Linked DNA regions of Homo sapiens: all the other regions are linked to region 3. The links are contacts of gene promoters, found by promoter capture Hi-C in blood cells and fetal thymus (Javierre and others, 2016). All regions are on one chromosome and are shown on one strand. Each heading gives the region's core, a stretch centred on a gene start or on the middle of the fragment in contact. The rest is flanking DNA. Distances are from core to core; before and after follow the strand shown.

Evidence for each region. The method cuts DNA at HindIII sites, captures the fragments that hold promoters and counts their contacts. A CHiCAGO score of 5 or more calls a contact.
Region 1: a fragment that was not itself captured here is called in contact with the fragment with the promoter of NKX2-4 in region 3 in 3 of 17 cell types (activated CD4 T cells, fetal thymus and total B cells); the score reaches 7.6 in activated CD4 T cells.
Region 2: a fragment that was not itself captured here is called in contact with the fragment with the promoter of NKX2-4 in region 3 in 1 of 17 cell types (activated CD4 T cells); the score reaches 5.1 in activated CD4 T cells.

The regions. Positions count from the first base shown.
Region 1 is chr20:21,110,553-21,114,685 of GRCh38, reverse strand. It overlaps the pseudogene RPL24P2. Among named protein-coding and RNA genes, the nearest start is that of LINC00237, 6.3 kb to the right of the region's middle. The HindIII fragment of the contact is 7,305 bases long and covers 1-4,133 here.
Region 2 is chr20:21,128,150-21,132,307 of GRCh38, reverse strand. KIZ (kizuna centrosomal protein) reads right to left here. Exons shown (of 13, transcript NM_018474.6): 2 at 149-211. Among named protein-coding and RNA genes, the nearest start is that of KIZ, 4.1 kb to the right of the region's middle. The HindIII fragment of the contact is 7,603 bases long and covers 1-4,158 here.
Region 3 is chr20:21,394,966-21,398,892 of GRCh38, reverse strand. It overlaps NKX2-4 (NK2 homeobox 4), which reads left to right and starts at 1,367. Exons shown (of 2, transcript NM_033176.2): 1 at 1,367-1,935; 2 at 2,360-3,528. The coding sequence starts at 1,494. The coding sequence ends at 2,982. LOC105372558 (a long non-coding RNA gene) reads right to left here and starts at 959. Exons shown (of 4, transcript XR_001754528.1): 1 at 317-959. The HindIII fragment of the contact is 6,496 bases long and covers 1-3,927 here.

The DNA.
Region 1 (4,133 bases), core at 1,283-3,782, 290 kb after region 3:
GAGAACGGTTCACATATTAAGCACATTCAACCAGGAACTTTGCTGAGGCTGCAATGTCCAGGATGGCTTCACTCTTGTACTGCAGCCTTGGTATAGATGTTGGCTGGGCCTTTCTTTCCACATTATCCCGTGTCAGTCAGTGGTCTTGTTTCTTTCTCTGGTGGCTGGCTTCCAGGACAGCTCTCAAATATTTTTTCATTATTATAATATTTTTGAAACAATACATCATAGGAAATTCAACTGTGAAAAAGACAGCAAAAAATGTCCCTCTCCTTCCTGCCACAAGCCTTCCAGTTTCCTTTTCCGGAGGCAATGAGTTACCAGTATCTTACTTGGCCTTCCTGAGTTATTCTAAGCACATCTTTGTCTATCTGAGCACCTCTACATTTCTGAACCCAGCTCCTATAGCATTTAAAATATGTAAATAGCAGCACTCTTTACACACCGTTCTGCATCTTGTGTTTTTGCTGAACATATCTTGGCGATCCTACTGTATCAGGATATGGAAAGCTATAGATCTGCCTCATCCTTTTAAACAGTTATGTAGAGTTTTGTTTTGTGGATCTTACATGATGCAATTTATCTAGTCCTGTTTTGATGAGACTGTTTTCATTTCATATACTATGATATTGACAGTGATGGCATTTAATATAGTAACTTGTATTTAACTTTTAAAATTGACATAAAATGTCATGGGGTAGGCATCTTTCTAGTACATCACAGCAGCGCCACACTATAGCACTACTAATAAGTCATTTGTCAAATGTGTACATGTGCCTTGCTTATGGAAACACGTGGTCTAGTAAATGCTGCTGACCAGTACCTCTGGGCTTTTAAAAACTTGCATCATTAAGTCATACTTAGAGCTGTGCACCACTACTGTAGGCTCCCTTCCCCCCATGAGATTTTAAAATATCCCATATCACTACTATTTCATTATCTTTAAAAAATTATCCCTTCTTGGCTTCAGTGACCCGCACCTCAGTCGCCACTTCATTTGCTGATTATGTTGCTACTTGAACCCACTCAGAAGAGTAATTCCTAATACCAGCCTTAGGATACAAGCATGGCATGAGGAGCCAGTGCTGGGCTATTAGTGTCCAATTACACACTGCTGGATGCTGTGTTATCATTGTTTCAAGTGCATTACTCCCACATCTGGTAAAACTAAAGAACATAGTCTAGAACCAGAAGACCTGGGTTCTAATTCTAGTTCTGCTACTAACTACCTTGATCATTTGTCAAATGACCTATCTTATTTTTGATTCCCCAAAGCAGATCCCACGACAAGGTTGGAGGGCACAACTAGTTTATTTTGGAGGTTATCCCAGAAAGTGGTTGAGAGACAGGGACCATTAGACAGAGAAAGGAAGGAAGCAGATTTAAGAGGCCTTAATGAGCAGGTTACCACTGAGGACAGCTGTGACTCAATTCAGCTGGGGACCTCTAAGGGACTATGGAAGGATAGAACAGAATCATCTTGACTGAGGGATGAGAAAGTAGGCTTTTGAATCTATCCACTCCCACCACTCATTGATGGAGGGTTGCTCCTTAGATTAACTCCTGCTATGGTCTGAATGTTTGCAATACTCCAAAATTCATATGTTGAAATTGAATACCCAGTGTTTTTTGTTTTTTGTTTTTTTTTTTTTTTTGAGACGGAGTCTTGCTCTGTTGCCCAGGCTGGAGTGCAGTGATGTGATCTCAGCTCACTGCAACCTCTGCCTCCCGGGTTCAAGTGAATCTCCTGCCTCAGCCTCTCGAATAGCTGGGATTACAGGCATGCACCACCACACCCAGCTAATTTCTCTATTTTTAGTAGAGACGGAGTTTCACCATGTTGGCCAGGCTAGTCTTGAACTCCTGACCTCAAGTGATCCACCCGCCTCAGCCTCCCAAAGTGCTGCGATTACAGATGTGAGCTACCACACCTGGTCCCCAGTGTTTTGATATTAAGAAGTGGTGCTTTTGGGAGGCAGAGCCCTCATGAATGGGATTAGTGCTCTTGTAAAAGAGGCCTGAGGGAGGCTGTTTGCCCCTTTTGCCTTTCCACCATGTGAGGATGTAGCAAGAAGATGCCATCAGTGAAGTAGTGAGTCCTTGCCAGACACCCAGTCTGCTGGTACGTCAATCTTGAACTTCCCAGCCTCCAGAATTGCGAGCACTCTACTTTCCTGTTGTTTATAAGTTACCCAGTCTAACATATTTTGTTACAGCAACTTGAACTAAGACAACTCTAGTATTTCCAGTCTTGCTTGCAATCTCCCAAGAAGTCCCAGCACCAGAGAACACCCTCAAACAGAGAGGTGGAGGATGTCCTGGACTGTACAGACACTATGTAACCTGCAGGGTAAGAAAGGAGAAATGAACTCTAACAGCATCAGCTATTTAGAAACAGCATGTGCATTAACTAAAAACATAGTTTTTAGTTCCTTAATGGAGCATATCATGATAGGCCAACAAGTGAGGATGCTTTGAACACTTGGACCTAAAGGGTATTTAGCACTTGGGAGCACAAAAGAAGTTTCCATGGAGAACTTAGAATATTAATCAAAGGACACTGACATATACTGAGTGCTATGATTCAGGCCTTGGCTGGGCTTTCAACATGTAGGTTCTTATTACTCCTAACTATAGCACGGCAAGGTGAGCATTATTATCCTGAGGCTTGGAGAGGTTGCTTCTCCTGTTCAAAGCCTGGCAGAAGACAGAGAAGTAGAGGGCAACCTATGGTCATCTGCATGACAAATGTCCTCTTAGGATAATGGGGAGGAGGGAAACCAGGCTGTGTCATTCTGGTTTCTACTGCCTTGCAGAGAACTAATAAGTGAGTTTAGCAAGGTTGTAGGATAAAAGATCAATATATAAAACTCAATTGTATTTCTATATACCAGCAACAAACAATAGGAAACTGAAAAATTTTAAATACCATTTACAATAGCATCGAAAACCATGAAATATTTAGGGACAAATCTGACAAAAAATGTGACAGAACTGCACACTGAAAACTGCAAATATTGCTAAGAGAAATGAAAGAAGATCTAAATCAATGGAGAGAAATATGAGTGAGGACACTCAATATTGTTATGACGTCAATTCTCTCCAAATTGATTGATAAATTCTACAAATTCCCTATCAAAATCCCAGCAGGTTTTTTTTTTTTAAAGAAATTGACAAGCTGTTTCTAACAGCCAAAACAACTCTATAAAGAAGAATTGTGGAAAGAATGTTGGAGGACTAAGACTGATTTCAAGCCCTATTATAGGACTACTAGAATATACTACCTTGCTTAAAGGGGAACTGTTCAACTTCCTCTCCATGCTCCAGATTTGCACTGAAGAACTCGGTGGATACACTCAGAAGCTGTCAGATGGAGGGCTTCGGGCATGCACAGGAAGTCTCACCCTGAGCCTAAGTCTTGGGCCAGTTGGTTACCTTGTGATATTAGTACTCTGGTGCCTTCAACAACAGACATACTTACTGGCTTTCTGGCCTTTGTTGCTGTAAGATGAGAGCAATGCTCTTTCCAGCTCTCTTTTATCCCCAAGCAGAACCTGAAGTCAGTGGGATGAATTTTAAATAGAAGGTAGAGGGGCCAGGTGCAGTGGCCTGTGCCTATAGTCTCAGCTACCTGGGAGAATTGCAGAGCCCAGGAGTTCAGTGCTGCAGTGTGCTATGATAGTGCCTGTGAACAGCCCCTGCACTTCAGCCTGGCCAACATAGTGAGACCCTGTCTCTTAAAAACAGAACAAACAAAAAAAAATAGAGGGAATGAAATTGTGGTCTAGAAGTGACAATATGAAATGAAGTGAGAGCCTCAGGCCAACTGGATATTGCAAGGTGTGTACAGCAACGAAGATAGCAATAAGTTGGAATTTTCTACCACTTCACACTCTAACACTCCATGGGATTCCTTCTCCAACATTCTTTTCCCTGTTTTAAGTTTCCTTGAATATTTCAGAGCTGAATTTCTCTATAGAAATAAATTTCTAATAAACATGTTGAAATTGTGACATCATTATCTTTGGGCAATAAAAAAAAAACAGAAAGAAAAGAGTTATCGGCTATGGGCAAGGAAAAGAAATACAAAGATTCCCATGACCCCTCAAGTCTCAGAAAATGCACCTGGGCAT
Region 2 (4,158 bases), core at 1,599-4,098, 270 kb after region 3:
GAGCAAGACTCCATCTCAAAAAAACTAAACAAAACAAAACCAAAAACCCAGTACTCTAACTACAATATTTATGACATAACATTAGGGTTACATTTTTGATTAATATATGGAACCTGGCTTGAAAACTGTTCCCACTGTCGTCTCTTACCTGCATGTATCAGACTGATTATATTCATAAAGTTTCTTTTCCAGGTCCAATCTCTTCTTTTCACTATAATAAAAAACATTTTATAAGTAATTACATGATAAGTAACAGGGAGTTGGATTTAGACCATGCTCTTCTTTGAAATAATGGCTTTGTTGCAAGGTGTTGATTAGAGGTCAAAAAAAGCCCAAATACCAAATCACACCTTTGTGAAAATGCTTCTCTGGTCTAAGAAGCAGAAAATGCCAGACGCATCTAAAACAAAAGGCACAAAAGTATGCAGCAGTCGCCAGGGAAATCTAAAAAACAAAACGAACACCAATAGGAGACAAAAGAATAAAATCCACAAAGTAAATGGGGAAATGCAATAGGAAAAGTCTGAGAAGCAGGTGCCTTCATTTAGCAAGTATTTCCTGAGTGCCTATGATGACCCAGGCACTGTTCTAGGCCTGGAGACTAATATGGCGAACTAGCCAGCCAAGACTCCTGCCCTCAAAGAGTTGACATTCTAGGGAGAAGGACAGACAATAATAAACAAGATAAGTATATAAAATGTAACGTGGCCAGACTTCTCTGAGTCGCTGGCATTTCGGTGATGGGGTCCCATCAGATCTTGTGTACAGATTGAAGACTGGTGGCTTGCTCTGTTTTCAACCAGACAAGCCTGGGCACAGCCAAGTGGATGAGATAGAGAAAGACCTCTGAAAAGTAAACCTGGCCTCACTTACATCTGATGAAGACCAGGCCTTCTAAGACCATCATTTCAAATTTGGAGGGATTTCTTTTTATAACTCTGTAATGGTGTCATTATTTGTCACAGGTTGCTGTTTTCCTGGAGCTACTACCAGTAAAGACTGAACCTGTGCTGTTCAGGTGAGTGCTAGCAGTAAGCTAAGGAGAAAACCTGTCTTACCCCACAACCAGCCTGGGCAAGGACGAGGGGGAACTGGGCAGCAGAGGAAGCAGAGGCAGCCAAAACCAGGGGGCTGGGGGATAAAACTGATGAAGCCATTCAGTCCCAAGAAGAGTGCCTGGGAGGATTAGCCACAGAGGGTTCCATCTGAGCACCACTATTTGTTTCAATCCCACCTAATTGAAGCTAAATTGCTCATCTAAGTTAACATTAAGTAAAGGCCAAAAAAGAAACCACATAATATTCTATCCAAGCAAAGAATCCTAAACAAAAGGCTGTGAAATAAAGATAAGGACTCCAACAGAGGTGATCTCAGGTTGGCTTCCTGAGGGAAAGGGGCTGGCCCCATGCTCCATTTGTGAGCTCTTAATTATCAGTTTCTATATATCTTCAGAATAGTTCTTTTCCTTTAAAAAAAAGATCATCCCAAAAGTCACTGTTAGCTACATTACAGGTTACATAACTTTCTTTCCTTTGCATAATGTTAAATGGAAACTACTATTTAACCAAAATTCATTTAATGGGAATATGGGGTCCAAAATCCAGACACAGAATCTTCACTTGGGGAACACAACCCATGGGTTGCAGTATGCCTATGTTAAAAAGAAAAAAAAAAGATTAAAAGGAAAAAAATTACAAAAACACACATTTTTAACTAATAGCATCACAAATCTTTACCTTCTCACTAGTAAGAGTGAACTTAGAATAGAAGTGAAGGAAACATAGCATAATTGCTTCCACATTAGAAATTTTTATTAGTTACCATTCCCCCCCTAGAGTTTCATGATCAATTGGGTACTTGGTTCATGCAGAATGAATGACTGGATAGTGTGAGCAACTTGTCATTAAATTACAAAGAAAGGAAGACCTCTGAATACATCTATGACCCCATGCCCTGAGGTAGTGCTTCATTTCTGTTGTATTCCTAAGAAAGCACGACTGCAGTCTGGTAATGAGACACCATCAGATAGACTCAGCTTGAGGGTCACCCTCTAGAATGAAAGCTGTACTCTATGAACTTGTCAGGAACATGAAAGACAGGGAAAGACTGAGGAATCGTTCCAGATGTAGGGAGACTGAAGAGACATGCCAGCCAAATGCAACCGCGGTTTGCAGGTGAGCCACTGGACCAGGGGGAAAAAAAAGGGAGCATCGTTAAGATAGCTGGTGAAATCTGATGCAGTCTGCGGACTGGTTTCACCACTAGGAGGGCTGTATGGTGTGATCATGTACAAGAACATCCTTGGCTTTTGGAAACACACATTGAAGATTTTAGGAGTGATGAGGCATCATATATGCACTTCTCAAACAGATCAGAAAAGGCTAATGGTTTTAGATAGACAGATTTAAATAGATACCCAACTGATATCTCAGTGTCAAAAATCTAATAAAATGTTAATAGTTGAGGGATCTGGGTGACAGGAACACTGGAGGTCTTTGTCCTATATTCGCAACTTTTTTGTAAGCTAGAATTTACTTTAAAAAATATATATATATATACACACATTTTTTTTTTTTGAGATGGAGTCTCACTCTGTTGCCCAAGCTGGAGTACAATGGCACAATCTCAGCTCACTGCAACCTCTCCCTCCTGGGTTTAAGGGATTCTGTTTCAGTTTCCCAAGTAGCTAGGATTACAGGCATGCGCCACCACACCCAATTAATTTTTGTATTTTTAGTAGAGACGGGGTTTTGCCATGTTGGCCAGGCTGGTCTCAAACTCCTCACCTCAGGTGATCCACCCGCCTCTGCCTCTCAAAGTGCCGGGATTATAGGTGTGAGCCACCACGCCCAGCCACTTTAAAATAATTTCTAAAATTCACCTATGACTTCTAGTGAAAAAGGACCACAGTCACTTTGGAAATCCACCACCTCCCAAGCAGCAAGTTCTTCTTAGTAATGAATGTAAAATTTATTTGTAAAACATCTTCAGCAGATGCAGACATCTGCTGCTCACACTTCTCTATCATAACACTTCATACCCTGATAATCAAACTCCTCTTGGCTTTCTCTCCCAGGCAAAACGGTGGTAATCTTGTTAACTCTTCTTCACAGGCCTATTTTCTAGCCCCTCATCCACACTGCAGCACCTCAGAATGCTGAGCCCTCCATGTCTTTTTAAAATTTAATACTAAAAACCAGATATTTGCCTCAATGAAAAGCCTTTCCATGGCTTGCAATTCTTACATATTAAATCTCTATTCAGAATCTTTGAAATACCCATCCCTGGGATGCTTACCCATAGTTCATGTTTTCAGTCACCCCTCACTTGGACCTTTCAGTTTTACACAGCTAAGTGGTCCTTATCTTGCTGAGTTTTCTACTTTTAAGCCACTTGTTATTCTGTTTTTGTCTCGATACCACAATTCTATACCATCTTCAGCTTACTCTACTAATATCTCAGTGTCAGTTTCTAGACTATTATGATATCTTACTCTGAATCAATATAGGCACTGAAAAAACCGCGGCTGGCTAATGGGCCCTTTTAAAAGGATGTTTTTGTATAACCGTAAGAGCCAATTCCACTTATAAGTTTCTACCATGCTTGTGGGTGCTATACACACTGTAACAAGTCACTCCATTAGACTCTTTTAGATTCAATTATTGACTTTCACCACAATGCAGAAAAAACACTGTACACACATAGGAAAACATTCAGACGATAAAATTACATCTACGTGTAACTACAGCTAACATGACTTGGGCTGGAAATATGCTGGTTATTTGACCAGCTAACATTGCAATGACCACCTCTAAAAGGGCTGAGAAAGAGGGAGTTTTTTTTTGTCTCCCACTTCCCAGAAGTTTCTGGATTGATAAAGCAGCTGTGACTACCCAGGGTTGCTCCCTATGAAATGACTCAGGAATTTTAGGAGACAGTGGTATCTGTGATCAGTGGGATGCTTTGTGTTTCTTTGTTTAAAAAGGTACAACCAAGGCCGGGTGCAGTGGCTCACACCTGTAATCCCAACACTTTGGAAGGCAGAGGCAGGCAGATCACCTGAGGTCAGGGGTTCGAGATCAGCCTGGCCAACATGGTGAAACCCCATCTCCACTAAAAATACAAAAATTAGCTGGGGTTGGTGGTGGGCGCCTGTAA
Region 3 (3,927 bases), core at 118-2,617:
GAAAAAAAATAAAACAAAATATTGCTTAAGAAAGCACTCTCCTTGTTTTTCTTTCTCCTGCTCCAGTTTCCAGGAAAACTTAAAAGTGTTATCTTTGTTTTCTCGTTATCATTATTATTGCTGCAAGATTGTTTTCAAAATTTAATCAATATGCTTTGCACACTGCTTTTGTCTTATGCTTTGTCTTGTTCAGTATTTAGTAGAGAGTTCATAATGTCTAAGTATTCGGGTAAAACTGCAAGTCAAAGGATGACAAAGTTTTAAAAATCTGTTTATCTATGGTTTTGTATTTTTCCAAAGAAACTACAATTTTCACCTGATTTCTGCATCCATTTTCATATCGCTTGAACAGGTTATATTTTTCCAACAACAACAAAAAGACCCGTTGCGAACAACTAGAAATATTTGGAAGTTTTGATATTTTGTCTTTCTCTTCTTTTTGATCACGGTAGTGATGGGAGAATAAACTTAAGTCAGAGATATTTACTGAGAGAAAGAGAGTAAGAACACACACAAAGGGAAAGAAAGCAGAAAAAACTTTACAAGTGCAAACTCAGTAGGAAACATTTTAGGAAATAAAAATGTTCCCCCTCTTTCCCTTGTTCAATTTCCATCCCCACAGAGGAAAAACAGAATACTTACAAGTTAGCATCTGCGTATTTATCAGTGTATGTGTGTTTTCTCTCTTCTCTGGGCTTGGATACTTTGAGCTAATTTGGAAGTGCCCGTTTGGTTGCCCACAAAATGATGCTTAAGGGTCTAAAAACGCATAAATTAGGGAGCCCTACAATGGCAAAGGACGGTCATTGTACCTCCTCTCTTTATGCGCTCTTACGGTGGGACCCAAGAGCCTTTTTTTTTTTTTTTAACACTTTAGGTGATGGAGCGAATGAGGGGCTGATAACTGGAGAGGACGAAGCAAGCCCCCGCAACACCCTCCCCCCAAACTTAGCAGCACGTTCCCCATTCCGCAATTATACCGGACTTTGGTGCGAAGTCACTTTAGAAAACTGGGATCTGGAAGGGGCCAGGCGCGGAGTCCATGTCTAGCCTCGACGCCAGCCTCCGAGTTTCTATTTCTGGTGCTCGAGGGCTGGGGTAACGGCCGCGGATGGAGGAGCGAAGGATGGGAAAAGCAAAGGATGGGAAAAGCAAAGATGGGAAAAGCAACGGGGAGTGATCTTTCCAAGAAACACCCAACTGCCCCTTTTACCTTTTTTTGCCTCCATTATGGGGCGGGGGTTGGGGGGGCGAGAGAAAAAGATGTCAATGACCATTGTTTGCTCGTTTGGGATGTTGCTCCGCCCCCCGAGTCTGTCGTAAACCTGGCGCCGGACTAAAATAAACCCCAGATCCCGCAGCCCGGGGGGCTCGCCGAGCCGCCGACTCCTCGTCACAGGCTCAGCTGCCGCGGCCGAGGTGGCGGCGACGAGCGGCCGCCGCGTCCTGCCGGCGCGCGCCCCAGGCCCCCCTACCTGGCTGCCCGCCGAGCCATGTCGTTGAGCCCAAAGCACACGACGCCCTTCTCCGTGTCCGACATCCTGAGCCCCATCGAGGAGACCTACAAGAAGTTCAGCGGCGCCATGGACGGCGCGCCACCCGGCCTGGGGGCGCCCCTGGGGGCCGCGGCCGCCTACCGCGCGCCGCCACCTGGGCCCTCCTCGCAGGCGGCGACCGTGGCGGGCATGCAGCCTTCTCACGCCATGGCGGGTCACAACGCGGCGGCCGCGGCGGCGGCGGCAGCAGCTGCGGCGGCGGCGGCCGCCACCTACCACATGCCGCCCGGCGTCTCGCAGTTCCCGCACGGCGCCATGGGCAGCTACTGCAACGGCGGCCTGGGCAACATGGGCGAGCTGCCCGCCTACACGGACGGCATGCGGGGCGGCGCGGCCACCGGCTGGTACGGCGCCAACCCGGACCCACGCTACTCGTCAAGTGAGAGGGGCCAGGAGCGCGGGGCTGCGGGCGGCTCAGGCGTTTCCCGCCACAGCCGAGGGGCGCGGGGGCGCGGGACGGGGTGCGCGCGGCTTAGGAGGTCCTGGGGCCGAGCGGGCGCGCGGGGCGTCCTGGGACGCGGCCCGGGACGCGCGGGGTTTCTGGGGACCCTGGGCGCGCGGGGGGTCCTGGGACCTGACCGGGAACGCGCGCGGCGTCCTGGGACCCGTTGAGGGCGTGGTGCTCTGGGACCCGCCGAGGGCGCGCGGGGCGTGCTGGGGCCGGAGGCCGCGGCGGTCAGGGGGTCTTGGGATTCAGCGAGGGCCCGGCGGCGTCGCGGCCGCGGCGTGAAGAGAGCGGCGGCTGGACCGGCTCCCGGCGGGCCTGGAGCTCACTCGCCTTCCCCCTTGGGACTCTTCCCCAGTCTCCAGGTTCATGGGGCCGTCGGCGGGCGTGAATGTGGCCGGCATGGGGTCGCTGACCGGCATCGCGGACGCCGCCAAGTCGCTGGGCCCGCTGCACGCGGCGGCGGCGGCAGCCGCTCCGCGAAGGAAGCGCCGCGTGCTCTTCTCGCAGGCGCAGGTCTACGAGCTGGAGCGGCGCTTCAAGCAGCAGAAGTACCTGTCGGCGCCCGAGCGCGAGCACCTGGCCAGCATGATCCACCTGACGCCCACGCAGGTCAAGATCTGGTTCCAGAACCACCGGTACAAGATGAAACGGCAGGCCAAGGACAAGGCGGCGCAGCAGCTGCAGCAGGAGGGCGGCCTGGGCCCGCCGCCGCCTCCGCCGCCGTCCCCGCGCCGCGTGGCGGTGCCTGTGCTGGTCAAGGACGGCAAGCCGTGCCAGAACGGCGCCAGCACGCCCACCCCCGGCCAGGCCGGTCCGCAGCCGCCGGCCCCGACGCCAGCACCTGAGCTGGAGGAGCTGTCGCCCAGCCCACCCGCGCTGCACGGCCCGGGGGGCGGCCTGGCGGCCCTGGACGCGGCCGCCGGGGAGTACAGCGGCGGCGTCCTGGGCGCCAACCTGCTCTATGGCAGGACGTGGTGACAGCGAGGGCGCCCCGGGGCTAGGTCCTGGTGCACCCGAAGGGTCTGCAAGAAACTGCTAGAACGGATGGGGGAGGCATGCGAAAACCGACTCGCGCGTGTAAACTGCGATTCAAAACGAACCGGTCTCAGAGAGGAGCAGGCTGTGAACCTCTTGCTGGGGGCGGGGGACAGCGACAGCCCGGAAACCGAGTAGTGTAACATTATGCCACGAGGCTTTGAGGTGGTGATTTTCTCCTCCTAGAAGTTCTTAAATGACGCGAAAAGGTGGAGAAGTTCACACGGCATTCTTAACTACAGCTCTCAAAGTTGGAAACTTTGTTGGCGTTTGTAACTATAAAAATCAACCCAGCTTTAACAATCAGTCCTTTTTGAAGTGGAATTTATCTTGGGAGATTAATTTTCGAAGGGCCCCCTAAGTGCAATTTCATTAATGTTTGATTGAAAGTAAATTGAAGTGTAGCTCAAGGTGGATCATACACATAGCAACATTATTGCAGAGGAATTATTGCCATTTAGGTAATAGAGCAATGGAATCAAAATAAAATACTGATTATATGGATTGATGGAGCTTTTTAAATTTAATGCTGATTTCAAAATGTTTTGATGATTATTTGGCAAGTGAGTGTTTGTATGTTACGCTAAAAGAGGATTTTCCCCCCTAAGATGCAGCTCACCATAAGAAAGGTTGTATACTATTTGTATATGAAATCTGGTCTCCCAACATCAACTGAGAAAATAAATAACCCTATCCTTCTGTAAACATGGTATTTACTCTCTTTGAGGTATTTTCTTGTCTGAATTTGAATACCTTGATAAAGTACTAGAACAAACAAGTAAAATTTCTAAAATTGACATCAATTAATCTATATTCAAAGCATGACAAGAAGAAGAAAGGTGATTTATTGAATTGTAATCAAGATATAAGGAATAAGTAACTACAATA